Linked DNA regions of Homo sapiens: region 2 is linked to region 1. Evidence: promoter capture Hi-C in 16 types of primary human blood cells and fetal thymus (Javierre and others, 2016). All regions are on one chromosome and are shown on one strand. The core of a region is centred on a gene start or on the middle of the fragment in contact, and the rest is flanking DNA. Distances in the headings are between cores, read along the strand shown.

Region 1 (6,107 bases), core at 360-2,859:
CAATAACGTCTACCCGCCACTTCAATATATCCTTAAGAACTGAACGTTTTACTGTAGAAAAGGAGTAGTTTTTAAAGCCTTTTACTGTAAAAGAAATCAGTACTTTACTAAAGACGTCCTCAGAAAGAAAACGATTCTAATAATTAATTTGAAATGGCTTTTTAAACCCAAATCATCATTTGAGAATACGGTAGCTACCAGTTTTCTCATACGTGAAACATACTTAGGTAACTTTCAAAATGTTTCAGGTGTCAGTTACTAGTATAACCCTGGGGAGTAAACGGTAGCTATATTACAACTGTTGCAAAGTAGAGTTTCTTTTTTAAGCCAAGAGTTCTCTAACACCCAAGGTTTAGTGCCCTAAAATGTCACCCCAGTCCTTTTAATTTTATATCCATGCCTTCCAAGCCCTACCTAACATCTGGTTCCCAGTTTTCCCCGTTGAGTATTTTCTCCAGGCCTGATTCCTCAACAGTTTTCCCTAAAACCTGTAGCTCATGCTGGCACTATTTTTGCCGAAGTAGATTAAGAATACAAGTAATAGATCATACTCTGGGGGAGGCAGTAAGTTAACAATTTCGTCTCCGTCTGCGTTAACCAGACGCAGATACTAGCCAGGGTGGCCACTATTCTCCTAACAAATTCTACAACGGCCAAGCAATTTTTCGGTAAGTTGGAAAACGGAAACCACAGCGTGGAAACTCTGCACGGAGTCTTAAAGATAAGAAGTTAAGACTTTAATTTACTCTTGCAGAGGGAACGGTGAAGGCTTTCAGCACGGCAAGACGATACTTTCGAAACTGTCACTAGACTACTCAAACTGGAGTCTCCCGCCCAAAAAAGCGTGGCACACGGCTAAAAAGGGCCTCCCTCCAAGGCTCCAGTCCTCGGGGAAGACGGCGCTGTGACCGTCTGATCCATGAGACCGGGCAAGAGGTGAAAGGGAGCAGGAAATCCTGTTTATTTCCAGTAGTCCTCAGAGCGGGAAAGGTTGGTGTCTACCCAGAAACGAATAGGGCCCCAGTTCCGGGCCTAGGAAGGGAAAACCCAGGTCTCCCGGGCGCCCTGGAGCTGTGCCCCCCTGCCCGGAGCACCAGCCCCACTCGGGCTTTCCTTCTCCCCGTCCCACTCAGGGCCTCAGCACAGCTCCCATTATGCCTCCACCACCCCCACCCGCGCAGGCGCAGTGGGAACCGGGGCCTACCCGCGCCCCCGAGGCGCCGCCACTATGGCGGAGCCTGGCCAGGCCGGTAGCCGCTCCGCGCGGACCAGGCGTCCCTCTCCCGTCCCCGCGGCCTCCCCACCACCTATGGGGTCTGTCCCCGCCCGGCCGGACCCTCTTTCGCCCTCCTCACCCGTTCTTCAGATCCACCTCCAGGATCTTCCCGTAGCCCTTAAAGAAGCGCTCCACATCGCGCTCCCGGGCCTGGTAGCTCAGGCGGCCGATGTACACCCGCGGCATCCCGGCAACGGCAGTGATGGCTGGCCCCGGCCCCAGCCCCCCTTAGGCGGCGGCGGGCAAAGCGAGAGCACGGCGGCAGCGGCGGCGGCGGCAACGGGCGGGCGGCGGGACGGACGCAGCCGAACCCCGGCGACGTACGCGAGCACGCAGCTCGCGAGCGCGCGCTTCCACTTCCCCCGCCCTTCCCCGAGGCGGAAGGTAACCGGAGAGAGCGCGCGTTCGCTTCCCGCTCGGCCAGGACTGGGGGAGGAGCTTGCCCGGGGGCGCGCCGACGTGCGGCGGGGCAAGGTGATCGACAGGCGGCGCTGCGGCACGTCCTCGCGCGAGCTCGCCAAAGGGGTTCCTGCACCGCCTTCCGCAGCCAGCTGGCTTCGCCCCTCCCCCGGAAGTGTCCGCACCTCCTAGAGCCCAGCGAGCGAGCGTTTGTGCTTTTGTCCTTTGAACCGGGTGTGGTTTGGATTTCGGAGCTGGAGCTTTGGAATCAAACCTAGCTTCCAAACGATTGTGTACCCGTGACCTTGGGCTTGTTACGCGCGATGTCTCGGACCCTCCTTTATCTTTTCTGTAAAAGGGGGAGAGTAGTTCCTACCTTCCAGAGTTGTCTTGAGAATTATATGAGAATACGTACATAAAGCACTTAGTAGTTTTGTCATATCAAGTGCCCAATAAATGAGACCAGTATTATTTTTAAGAGGACACTGCTTAAATAGAAGCAGTGTGAGAAGCGGAGAAGGCTGGAGCTTTGGAGCTAGACTAGGCATGACGCCGAGTAAATTACTTGACCACAATCCAACCTATTTTTTTTTTTTTGAGACGAGTTTCGCTCGGTCGCCCAGGCTGGAGTGCAGTGGCGCGACCTCAGCTCACTGCAACCTCCGCCTCCCGGGTTCAAGCGATTCTCCTGCCTCAGCCTCCAGAGTAGCTGGGACTACAGGCGCCCGCCCCCACGCCCGGCTAATTTTTGTATTTTTAGGAGAGAGGAAGTTTCACCATATTGGCCAGGCAGGTCTCAAACTCCAGACCTCAGGTGATCCGCCCGCCTTGGCCTCCCAAAGTGCTGGGATTACAGGCGTGAGCCACTGCGCCTGGCCTATCCAGTCTATTTTCTAACCTGTAAAATTAGAATAATGTATACCCATCTCAAGGATTACACAGGTCACTAAATGGGGTAGTGTATGTGAAAGTACTTGGAACAGTGTCTGAAACATGGTAAGAGCTCAATAAATATTGGTTCCCTTCTCACTAACGCCATGTACCTAGAACCATAAAGGGTTTTGTTTCTTTGCTTGTTTTTGTTTTTTGAATATTTTGAAAGGATAACTCAAGGTTCAAATGATACACAGTGAAAAGTCTTCGCTGTCCACCAGCCACTTAGTTTCTCTTCCCAGAGGCAGTTTCTGAAATGTCCTTTAGGAGGTTAATTTACCCTTATAAAACAAATAGTAGGATACTATACATATGGTTCTACACAAAATATATTTTGAAAATCATTCCTTAAGAGTATAAAAGGACTAGTTTTATGGTTCATACCATTTTATACACAGTAATTTATTTAGCCAGTGCCCTGGTGAAGGACATTGAAATAAGTTCCAACCTTTTGTTATTACACTGCTGCAGTAACTTTGCATTTCTCTCTCTCTCTTTCTCTCTCTCTCTATATATATCATCTATTCCTAGAAATAGGATATTTGGGTCAGAGTTTTGATAAGTTATTGCTCAATTCCCCTTAAGTGGCTGTTTCCTCATATCCTCATCAACACCGTGTTATCAAACTTTTTGATCTTTGCCAATCTGAGAGGTGAAAAATGTTATCTCCAAGTGGTTTAATTTGCAAATATCATATTTTGCAGAGATATGAGTCTTTCTTCATATGTTTGAGATATATTTTCCTATTTCTGTCTGTGTATATCCTTTACCCATTTTTCTTATTCATAGGTGCTCACTATATATTAGGAAAATCAGCTCTTTGTCAAATGAGTTGCAAATATTTTTTCCATTTGTTGACTTTTGACTTTGCCAAGAGTGTTTTTTAGCCATGCAAAAACATTAGATATTTATGGGATCAATTTATCCATCCTTTATTTTTCTTTGATTCTGGATTTTATTTTTAAATTTTTATTTATTCTACTTTTTTTTTTTTTTTTTGAGACTGAGTCTCGCACTGTCGCCCAGGCTGCAGTGCAGCGGTGCGATCTCAGCTCACTGCAACCTACGCCTTCTGGGTTCAAGCGTTCTCCTTCCTCAGCCTCTAGAGTAGCTGGGATTACAGGCACCTGCCACCACGCCCGGCTAATTTTTTTGTATTTTAGTAGAGAAGGGGTTTCACTATGTTGGCCAGGCTGGTCTTGATCTCCTGACCTCGTGATCTGCCTGCCTCGGCCTCCCAGAGTGCTGGGACTACAGGCGTGAGCCACTGTACCCGGCTTTTTTTTTTTTTTTTTGAGATGGAGTCTTGGTCTGTTGCCCAAGATGGAGTGTAGTGGCACTATCTTGGCTCACTGCAGTCTCTGCCTCCAGGTTCAAGCAATTCTCCTGCCTCAGCCTCCCAAGTAGCTGGGATTACAGGCATGTGCCACCACGCCTGGCTAATTTTTTTGTATCTTTAATAGAGACTGGGTTTCACCATGTTGGCCAGGCTGGTCTCAAACTCCTGACCTCAGGTGAGGTGGCGTGAGCCACCGCGCCCGGCAAGAAATCTATTTTGAAAGTAATAATTAGTGGCTGGGTGCGGTGGTTCACGCCTGTAATCCCAGCGCTTTGGGAGGTTGAGGCAGGAGGATCATCTGAGGTTAGGGATTCAAGACCAGCCTGGTCAACATGGGGAAACCCCATCTCTACTAAAAATACAAAAAATTAGCCAGGTGTGATTGTGTGGGCCTGTAGTTCAGCTATTCAAAAGGCTGAGGCAGGAGAATTGCTTGAACCCAGGTGGCAGAGGTTGCAGTGAGCCGAGATCGTGCCATCACACTCCAGCCTGGGTGACAAGAGCAAAACTCCATCTCAAAAACAGGCCACAGCGCCCAGCCTATTCTACTTTTTTAGAGATGGAGTCTCGTTGTTTTCCTGCCTGGTCTTAAACTACTGGGCTCAGGCCAGGCACAGTGGCTCACACCTGTAATCCCAGCACTTTGGGAGGCCGAGGTGGGTGGATCACCTGAGGCCAGGAGTTCGAGACCAGTCTGGCCAACATAGTGAAACCCTGTCTCTATTAAAAATACAAAAAATTAGCCAGACATGGTGGCAGGCGCCTATAATCCCAGCTACTCGGGAGGCTGAGGCAGGAGAATAGCTTGAACCCAGGAGGCGGAGGCTGCAGTGAGCCAAGATTGTGCCATTGCACTCCAGCCTGGGCAACAAGAGCGAAACTTTGTCTCAAAAAAGAAACAAACAAACAACTGGGCTCAAGCAATCCTCCCTTCTGGACCTCCCAGTGTTGAGATTACAGGCATGAGCCACTGCACCCAACCTCCTATTTATTATTTTATTTTTTAAATTTAATTCAATTTTATTTTTTGAGACAGAGTTTTGCTCTGTCACCCAGGCTGGAATACAGTGGCATGATCTTGGCTCACTGCAACCTGTGCCTCCTGGGTTCACACGGTTCTCCTGCCTCAGCCTCCTGAGTAGCTGGGACTACAGGCCCGTGCCACCATGCCAAGCTAATTTATGTATATATATTTTAGAGACAGAGTTTAACTCGTTGCCCAGGCTGGAGTGCAATGGCACGATCCCCGCTCACTGCAACCTCTGCCTCCCGGTTTCAAGTGATTCTCCTGCCTCAGCCTCCTGAGTAGCTGGGATTACAGGCATGTGCCACCACGCCCAGCTAATTTTGTATTTTTAGTAGAGATGGGGTTTCTCCACGTTGGTCAGGCTGGTCTTGAACTTCCAACTCCAGGTGATTCACCCGCCTGGGCCTCCCAAAGGGCTGGGATTACAGGTGTGAGCCACCTTGCCCGGCCATAATCTTTAATTCATTTGGAATTCAGTAAGTGTGAGGAACATAACATTCTTAAGAACTAGCAATCTGGCCTGGGCAACATGGCAAAAACCCGTCTCTGCAGAAAAAACAACAAAAAAAATTAGCCAGGCATGGCGGTGCATGCCTGTAGTCCCAGCTACTTGGGAGGCTGAGATGGGGGGGATCTCCTGAGCCCAGGGAGGTTGAGGCTGCAGTGATCTGTGATCATGCCACTGTCCTCAAGCCTGGATGTCAGAGTGAGACCCCATCACATGCACACACACACACAAAAACAACAAAAAACCACGAAAACAAAAATCCTAGCACTAAGCTTGGTTGTTATATTAACCTATTGTACAGATGGGAAAGAGAGCCCTCCAGAGGGGAAATGCTTGTCCCTAAAACCTGCTCCTCCTTCCCCAATGCAAGTGGCACCACCATCAGCGAGGTGCCAAAGTTCAACCTTCAACCACTGCATTCAGTCTGTCCTTCTGATTATTCCTTCTAAATATTCACAGATTCATTCCTTCTTTCCATTCCTACTTCCTAAACTAGTTCAGGCCTCATCAGACTGTTCACAGTCAGGGCTTTGATATGCGCTACTTCCTCTGCCTGGAATACAGCTGGCTCCTTCTTATTCAGGCCTGAGGCCTTCCATGTCCACCTTATTTCAAGTGTTGTTTG
Region 2 (7,148 bases), core at 426-2,925, 770 kb before region 1:
GTAAATTAACATTCATTCAATCATAATATGGAGTTTATAGGAAAACAGAAATGACTCATATTTAACTACCATTCTCCTCTGTCTCCATTTTTCCTTCTAAATGTTATAATGATTTTTTTCTTAGTTGTTTACTATACATATACACACATATACATATGATAAGAATTTGGTGTACTCAGTGTCATTTGACAAAGAAAAGAATTGAGGATGTAAAATGAGTTTGTTTCTTTTGGTGGAGTGAGAATTTTGTTATAATCAAGTTAGCTAATAATTAAGTAGAAATATTGAAAAAGAGATAAAAGACTACACATTGGGTACAGTGTACACGGCTTGGATGATGGTTGCACCAGAATCTTAGAAATCACCACTAAAGAACGTATTCATGTAACCAAATACTACCCATTCCCCAAAACCTATTGAAGTAAAAAATGACATAAAAAAGGAAAAAAAGAAAACAGAAACCACCCAAAAGAAAGAAAGAAAGAACGAATGAACAAAAGAAAGAAAGAACGAATGAACAAAAGAAAGAAAGAAAGAGAAAGAAAGAAAGAATTATTTGTGGTATTCTGGAAATAAAAGTAGTGAGGGATTTTTACGAATAAAGTACCAGAAGGATAGACCTAAGGTCTCTAGGACCTTTTCTACCTGGACAGATGCTTACACATTTCATTATATAATATTTAAATATCATGTTCGTTAATATCACTATTGGTCTCGTTGAAAAAAATGTTAAATGTTGGGAAGCTGTCAAGCTCATTCTGGATGTAAATTTTCCAAAATAGGAATTTCACTTGAAAGCTTGAATTCTATCACTAGCAACAAATACTGTTAATTTTCTTTATTAGTGACAGGCTTACTTTTGAGAAAATGCCTGTCAGCTATCTAAGCTTGAATAACATAGCTTGTTGTTCAGTCTTTCAAGTAAAAATAGTATTCCATGAAGAAAACTGTCTAGTTCAGTTTGCAACTCAGTCACACAAATGCCTTTCCTGGAGATAACCATCATACTTAGTATACAAATGTGCTTTATACATATTTCTGTTTCATCATAAACAGTAATAAAAATATATGTACTAAAGGGTTGATATTTATTAAAACTAATATTTTTTATTGCTTTATCAAGGACATTCTTAAAGTTGAATTTATTTTTCACTGTAACTGTGTAGTTGTGAAGAATACAATGATTTCTGCTACAGTTTGGTGCTGTTGCCTTGATTTGTGTTAAGGTGCTAACAGTTTTGCTCACCATTGCTTTTGTACCATCAGTGCAAGTGTCAACACAGTGGAAAAGGCAAATAATTTTTTTGTATTCTTATGTATTTAGTTTTACCTCTTGGACTTCTGAAAGGATCTCAGGGATCCCCAGAGATCAGCAGATTATACTTGCTTCATTTTCCTGAGGTTCCTAGAGGCCCTTCTATGGAAGTCATGAGTAAAGTTAAGATTTAATCCTGGAGATTGTATTGGGCAGGGTTTCAGTGTGGACTAGGTCTTGGACATTTGACAGAAATATGGTCAGAGGGAGTGATTAGCTCTGTGGTTTCTCCTAAGCAGGAGTACCCTGCACCACTACCCCCGGGCCACAGGAGGTGAGCAGTGGGCCAGTGAGCATTACAGTCTGAGCTCCACCTCCTGTCAGATCAGTGATTAGGTGGAACAGTTTCATCCCAAACCACCCCAACACCCCCGTCTGTAGAAAAATTGTCTTCCATGAACCTGGTCCCTGGTGCCAAAAAGGTTGGGGACCGCTGGGTTAAAGAAACTTTTGTGGAGCGAAATGAGTCTGGAACTCATTAGGCAATCAAGTATGTTCAAAGAAGAAATCCATAAGCATTTAGTCAAGACAGGCTGAGGGCCAGGCTCACCTGGGTACTGTGTTCTTAGCTTTAAAAAGGATAAATAGCAGCAGAGATATTGGTGATGACAGCTTTCAATATATCTCTTGAGTCACATTGCTCCAGTCTGTGTACAGGTGGCCTTGCAGTCTGTAGAGGTGGTACGCAACTGTCATCCTGGGTTATCCAGTCTCCATTTTCCTGACAGCTTTGCTTCTTTCCTGTGTTAGCTCCTTTGTTTCCTAAACCCTCATGTCTTCCTCTGTCTTGGTTGCCAGTAGCTTTTTGATGTTGAACCTCCTGGAATAATTATCTAATTCATTTCTTTTTCCTTTAGATATGTTTCCTGCAAGATTTATTCAACTTTATCTTCTACTTTTATTAAATTTTTCTTTTCTACTATTAGAGTTTAATCTCCAGGAGGTCTTTTTGAAGTCTCTGCATGTTTCTTTTTATACTATCCTTTCATTCTTTCAACAGATTTTCCTTGCCCTGCATAGTCTCTTTTTTTCCTAACATTGTTTTTAAATATTGATTTGGTTTCTTTTATGTTAGAGTTTTTCTCTGATGTCTAGTAATAATTAACTGTCTGCTGATGGTTAAAAGTGAGGGACTAAATAGCCAGTTAGAAGCTTTAAATGTATAGGCAGGTTGCCTTTGGGTGAGCTTCTTGGCCTTATTGTTGATGAACATTCTCATATCAGTATCAGGGTCTAAGGGGCACAGTCTTCCCACTGTGTTTGGATGGTAAGGGGTGAAGAAAACTGACTGAAGAGACTGCTGCATTCAGCATTAATTATGCATATTTTCACTTAATTCTCTTCCATTTTTAATTTTACTTGTATTTGTATTTTATTTTACTTTATTTTTATCTTTTGAGATGGAGTCTTGCTCTGTCACCCAGGCTAGAGTGCAGTGGCGCCATCTCAGCTTACTGCAACCTCTGCCTCCTGGGTTCAAATGATTCTCCTGGCCTCAGCCTCCCGAGTAACTGGGATTACAAGCACCCATCACTGCCTGGCTAATTTTTGTAGTTTTAGGGTTTCACCATGTTGGCTAGGCTGGTCTCGAACTCCTGACCTCAGGTGATCCGCCTGCCTCGGCCTACCAAAGTGCTGAGATTACAGGCATGAGCCTCTGCAGCTGGCCTTATTTTCTTTTTCATTTTATTTTTTTATTTTTATTTTTTGGGGTCAGTCTTCCTCTGTCTCAAAAAAAAAAAAAAAAAAAAAAGCACCGCAGCCTCGACCTCCTGAGCTCAAACAATTCTCCCACCTCTGCCTCCCAAGTAGCTGGGACTATAGGCACATACCACCATGCCTGACTAATTTTTTTACTTTTTGTAAAGATGCAGTCTCCCTATGTTGCCCAGGCTGGTCTTGAACTCCTGGGCTCAAGTGATTCTCCCACCTCGGCCTCCCCAAAAGTTGAGATTACAGGCATGAGCCATTGCACCCAACCCCTTCCATTTTTTGTACCATATCCCTACCATCAGTTGCCTTTTGCGACCCCTTTCCAGAGACCATTTGCTTTACACTTTCTTGGAAAACAGATTCCAAAATTCCGCCAGAGTTAGTGTAGGACAGACATTGAAGATCATGGAGTAGGGAAAGTGATAGAGGAATCAAACAGCTTTTACCTTGCTTCTCCTGATTTTAGGTCACCTCCCTTTCATCTCATTTCAGAGACCTGGATAAAATACAATGAATGTATTACTTGTTAACCTATACTGGTGTATACTACCAGTTAAAAGAAAAAATTAGGCTGGGCGCGGTGGCTCACCCCCGTAATCCTAGCACTTTGGGAGGCCGAGGTGGACGGTTTGCCTGAGCTCAGGAATTCGAGACCAGCCTGGGCAACAAGGTGAAACCCCGCCTCTACTAAAATACAAAAAATTACCCAGGCATGATGGCGTGCTACTGTAGTCCCAGCTACTTGGGAGGCTGAGGCAGGAGAATTGCTTGAACCCGGGAGGCGGAGGTTGCAGTGAGCCAAGATCACGCCACTCCACGCCAGCCTGGGCAACAGAGCGAGACTCTGTCTCAAAAAAAAAAAAAAGAGAGAGAAAAGAAAGAAAAAAATTCATGGCTACACTGTACATAAGTGCTGAGTGAAGGAAGGATCCAGAGAGGATGTGCATAGAATTTGTGCTACCATGATGCTCCACACCCCACTACTTTCAAAAATAGCTAATTCGTGCTTCTGCTTTCTTCCTCCCTTTTCAACTGCTTATGGAGTTAACAGTCATTCTCCCAAGAGCATACCAGAACAAAAGGGACTGAAACCCTAGCATATCACTTATTTAAAAGTACTGAGTTGTGACTTCCTTCTAAAGATTTTTGAGGTGGAGGAGGATCTGCATACTAATTGCCTTCCCAAAATGTTTTAAATCATCTGAATACTTCATTAAGTTTCTATATACCCTCTCTTGTATAAATATGAACATGACTTGTTGAAAATACTTTTTTGGGTGTGTTTGGTGATTGTTTAATGAGATGTAGATTATCAGTTTGCATTCTGAATTTAAAGCTAGTTGCAAAGGCTTTATTCATATGCATGGCATTCTGGAAACAAATTTATAAGATAATACCTCCTTTTGATTAGAATTTGTATCATATAGGAAATAGGAGAAGTAGTTTGTTAAGGTAGCAAATAGAATTTATTATTTCCTAAACAAAGTCAATTATTTTTTTCTTATTCTGTATCTGAATTTATGAATTATTATGATGATGCTATAAAGGAGTTTTTTTCTAGCTGTTTAAGAACATTTGCCAAGGAGCCAAACTCAAGACATAATGCACTTCAAAGTTCATGGGAAAACATTTTTGATGTTATGTTGTTATCACTTGAAGCTCAAAATATGCCAGTAACATAGTCCTTCCCTCCCTCCTCTTTAAGAATGAAAGACAAAATACAAGCTTAATTAGTTTTGAGGTCCTCAGGGTGTAGGAGTTAAATTCCTCCAGTATTACATGATGCCAAAATTGATGCTAGTTCCATTTTTTCTCCTAGTGGTCTTGATGAGAAATTTAATATAGCATTATTATAAATATATATTAAATATCCTCTGTCATCTTATTTCCTGAAGGGGTATAAAGGTCAACATGTTTTTACTGTTACATCCTACCCACTGCCCAGTAGTAAACACACAATACATATCTGTATGTGTTTCTTCCAGTGGTTTTAATTTTTCTGCATAAGATAGAATTACCAATCTTAAGGAAAACAGAGTACACAGGCACCAAATTCTGTGAACCTGAATAACAGATATTATGTAATTATTTTTTCTGTCAGTAGAAAAAGATGAGCTGTAGTAGTAGTAGTAGAAGCCTGGAAAGGCAGTAATGCTGACATTCTGGACTATTGCCTGTGTCCTCTCACCACTTTTTATCACTTCTGACTACGTCTTACTCCTAGAAAATCATAGCAAGTGGGATAGGTTGACTAAATGCATGGACTGGTTTCCATCTGAATTTATTGCTGCAAACTGAGCCCTTATCAATGTGTCATGCACCCTGGACAGACGATGATATATGTCATACAAATGTTTTCTTCCAGCCTGTGGCTTGTCTATTTGCTTTCAGAGGCTTTTAAAGTAATGCAATCCAATTTAATCCATTTTCTCTTTTATAGTTCATAATTTTTGTGTTTTCTTGAAGAAATCTTTGCTTAACCAAAGATTAGGTTTTATTTTAAGTTGTTGATTCTTTTTGAGTTAATTTTTAGATATGGTACAAAGTTGGAAATATTCTCCTTTGTCCACTGAATTACCTTGACACCCTGTTGAATTCCTGATGAAACTGGTAATTTTCTTTCTTGCTTTTTTTTTTCTTTTTTTTGCTGTTCCCCCCTTCCTTCCCCCTGAAATGGGTAATTTTCTAGGAAAATATAATTTGCCAAAGGAACTCAAGAAATAAAAATCCTATGTAGACTAGTGTTAAAATGTGATTAGGCCAGGGGTTTTGTGGACAATTTAATTCATGTTGATGAAGCAGATGATTGCAGTAGTCCCTCCTTATTTATGGGGGATATACCAAGACCAAGAATGCCAGTGGATCCCTGAAATCATGGATAATACTGAACCCCAATATGTACTGTTTTTTTCCTGTATATACATACATACATATGTACCTGTGATAAAGTTTGGATTATAAATTAGGCACAGTAAGAATTTAATAACAATAACTAATAATAAAATAGAACAAATAAGTAAAACAAAGATTACTTGAACACAAGCACTGCAATACCGCCACAGTTGATATGGCAACTGAGATGGCTGCTAAGTGATTAACAGGCAGTGAACACATACGGTGTGGATATGCTGGACAAGGTGATGGATGATTCACCCCTGGGCAGGACAGAGCAGGATGGCATGAGATTTCATCATGATACTCAGAGTGGCACATGATTTAAAACTTACAAGTTATTTATTTCTAGAAATTTTCCATATTATATCTTTGGACTGCAGTCAACCACAAGTAACTGAAACTGCAGAAAGTGAAACCACAGATAAGAGGGGACAGCTCTATAATGCTATATCAATCAGTATAGCAGAGAAAAAGAAAGTATACCTGTTTATTTTATAAAGTTGGCAAAATCTTGATAACTAAAAGCTGACAGTCTGGGCATAGTGGCTCATGCCTCTAATCTCAGTCCTTTGGGAGGCCCATACGGGAGGATTGCTTGAGCCCAGGAGTTCAAGAACAGCCTAGGCAACATTGGGAGACCCTACAAAAAAAAAAAAAAAAAAGACACAAGAATCTTTTAAAAAGTTAGCCAGGTATGGTGGCACACATCTATAGTCCCAGCTATTTGGGAGGCTCAGGTGGGAGGATTGCTTGAGTCCAGGAGGTCAAGGCTGCAGTGAAATGAGATTGTGCCACTGCACTCCAGCCTGGAGGACAGAGCACAGCCCTATCTCTAAATAAATAAATGCTGACAAAGATAGTAGAAAAATACATTTGTCCGGCTGGGTGTGGTGGCTCATGCCTATCCCAGCACATTGGGAAGCCAAGGCAGGCAGATCACATGAGGTCAGGAGTTTGAGACCACACTGCCCAACATGGCGAAAGCCTGACTCTACTAAAAATACAAAAAAAAAAAATAATAATAATAATAGCTGGGCGTGGTGGCAGGCAACTGTAACCCCAGCTACTTGGGAGGCTGAGGCAGGAGAAACATCTAAACCTGGGAGGCAGAGGTTGCAGTGACTCAAGATTGCGCCACTGCACTCTGGACTGGGTGACAGAGCAAGACTCCATCTCAAAAACAAAAAACAAAACAAAACAAACAAACAAATACATTTGTTCTATT

Evidence for each region. The method cuts DNA at HindIII sites, captures the fragments that hold promoters and counts their contacts. A CHiCAGO score of 5 or more calls a contact.
Region 2: a fragment that was not itself captured here is called in contact with the fragment with the promoter of SRSF4 in region 1 in 2 of 17 cell types (naive CD4 T cells and total CD4 T cells); the score reaches 5.9 in naive CD4 T cells.

The regions. Positions count from the first base shown.
Region 1 is chr1:29,180,291-29,186,397 of GRCh38, forward strand. SRSF4 (serine and arginine rich splicing factor 4) reads right to left here and starts at 1,610. Exons shown (of 6, transcript NM_005626.5): 1 at 1,356-1,610. The coding sequence starts at 1,462. It also overlaps a transcript of MECR not described here. RefSeq lists silencers at 1,209-1,398, 1,449-1,658 and enhancers at 1,663-2,300, 1,729-1,958, 2,301-2,938. The HindIII fragment of the contact is 7,304 bases long and covers 1-5,752 here.
Region 2 is chr1:28,411,382-28,418,529 of GRCh38, forward strand. The region is part of intron 2 of PHACTR4 (phosphatase and actin regulator 4); the gene reads left to right. Among named protein-coding and RNA genes, the nearest start is that of PHACTR4, 45 kb to the left of the region's middle. RefSeq lists a silencer at 6,072-6,131. The HindIII fragment of the contact is 1,580 bases long and covers 886-2,465 here.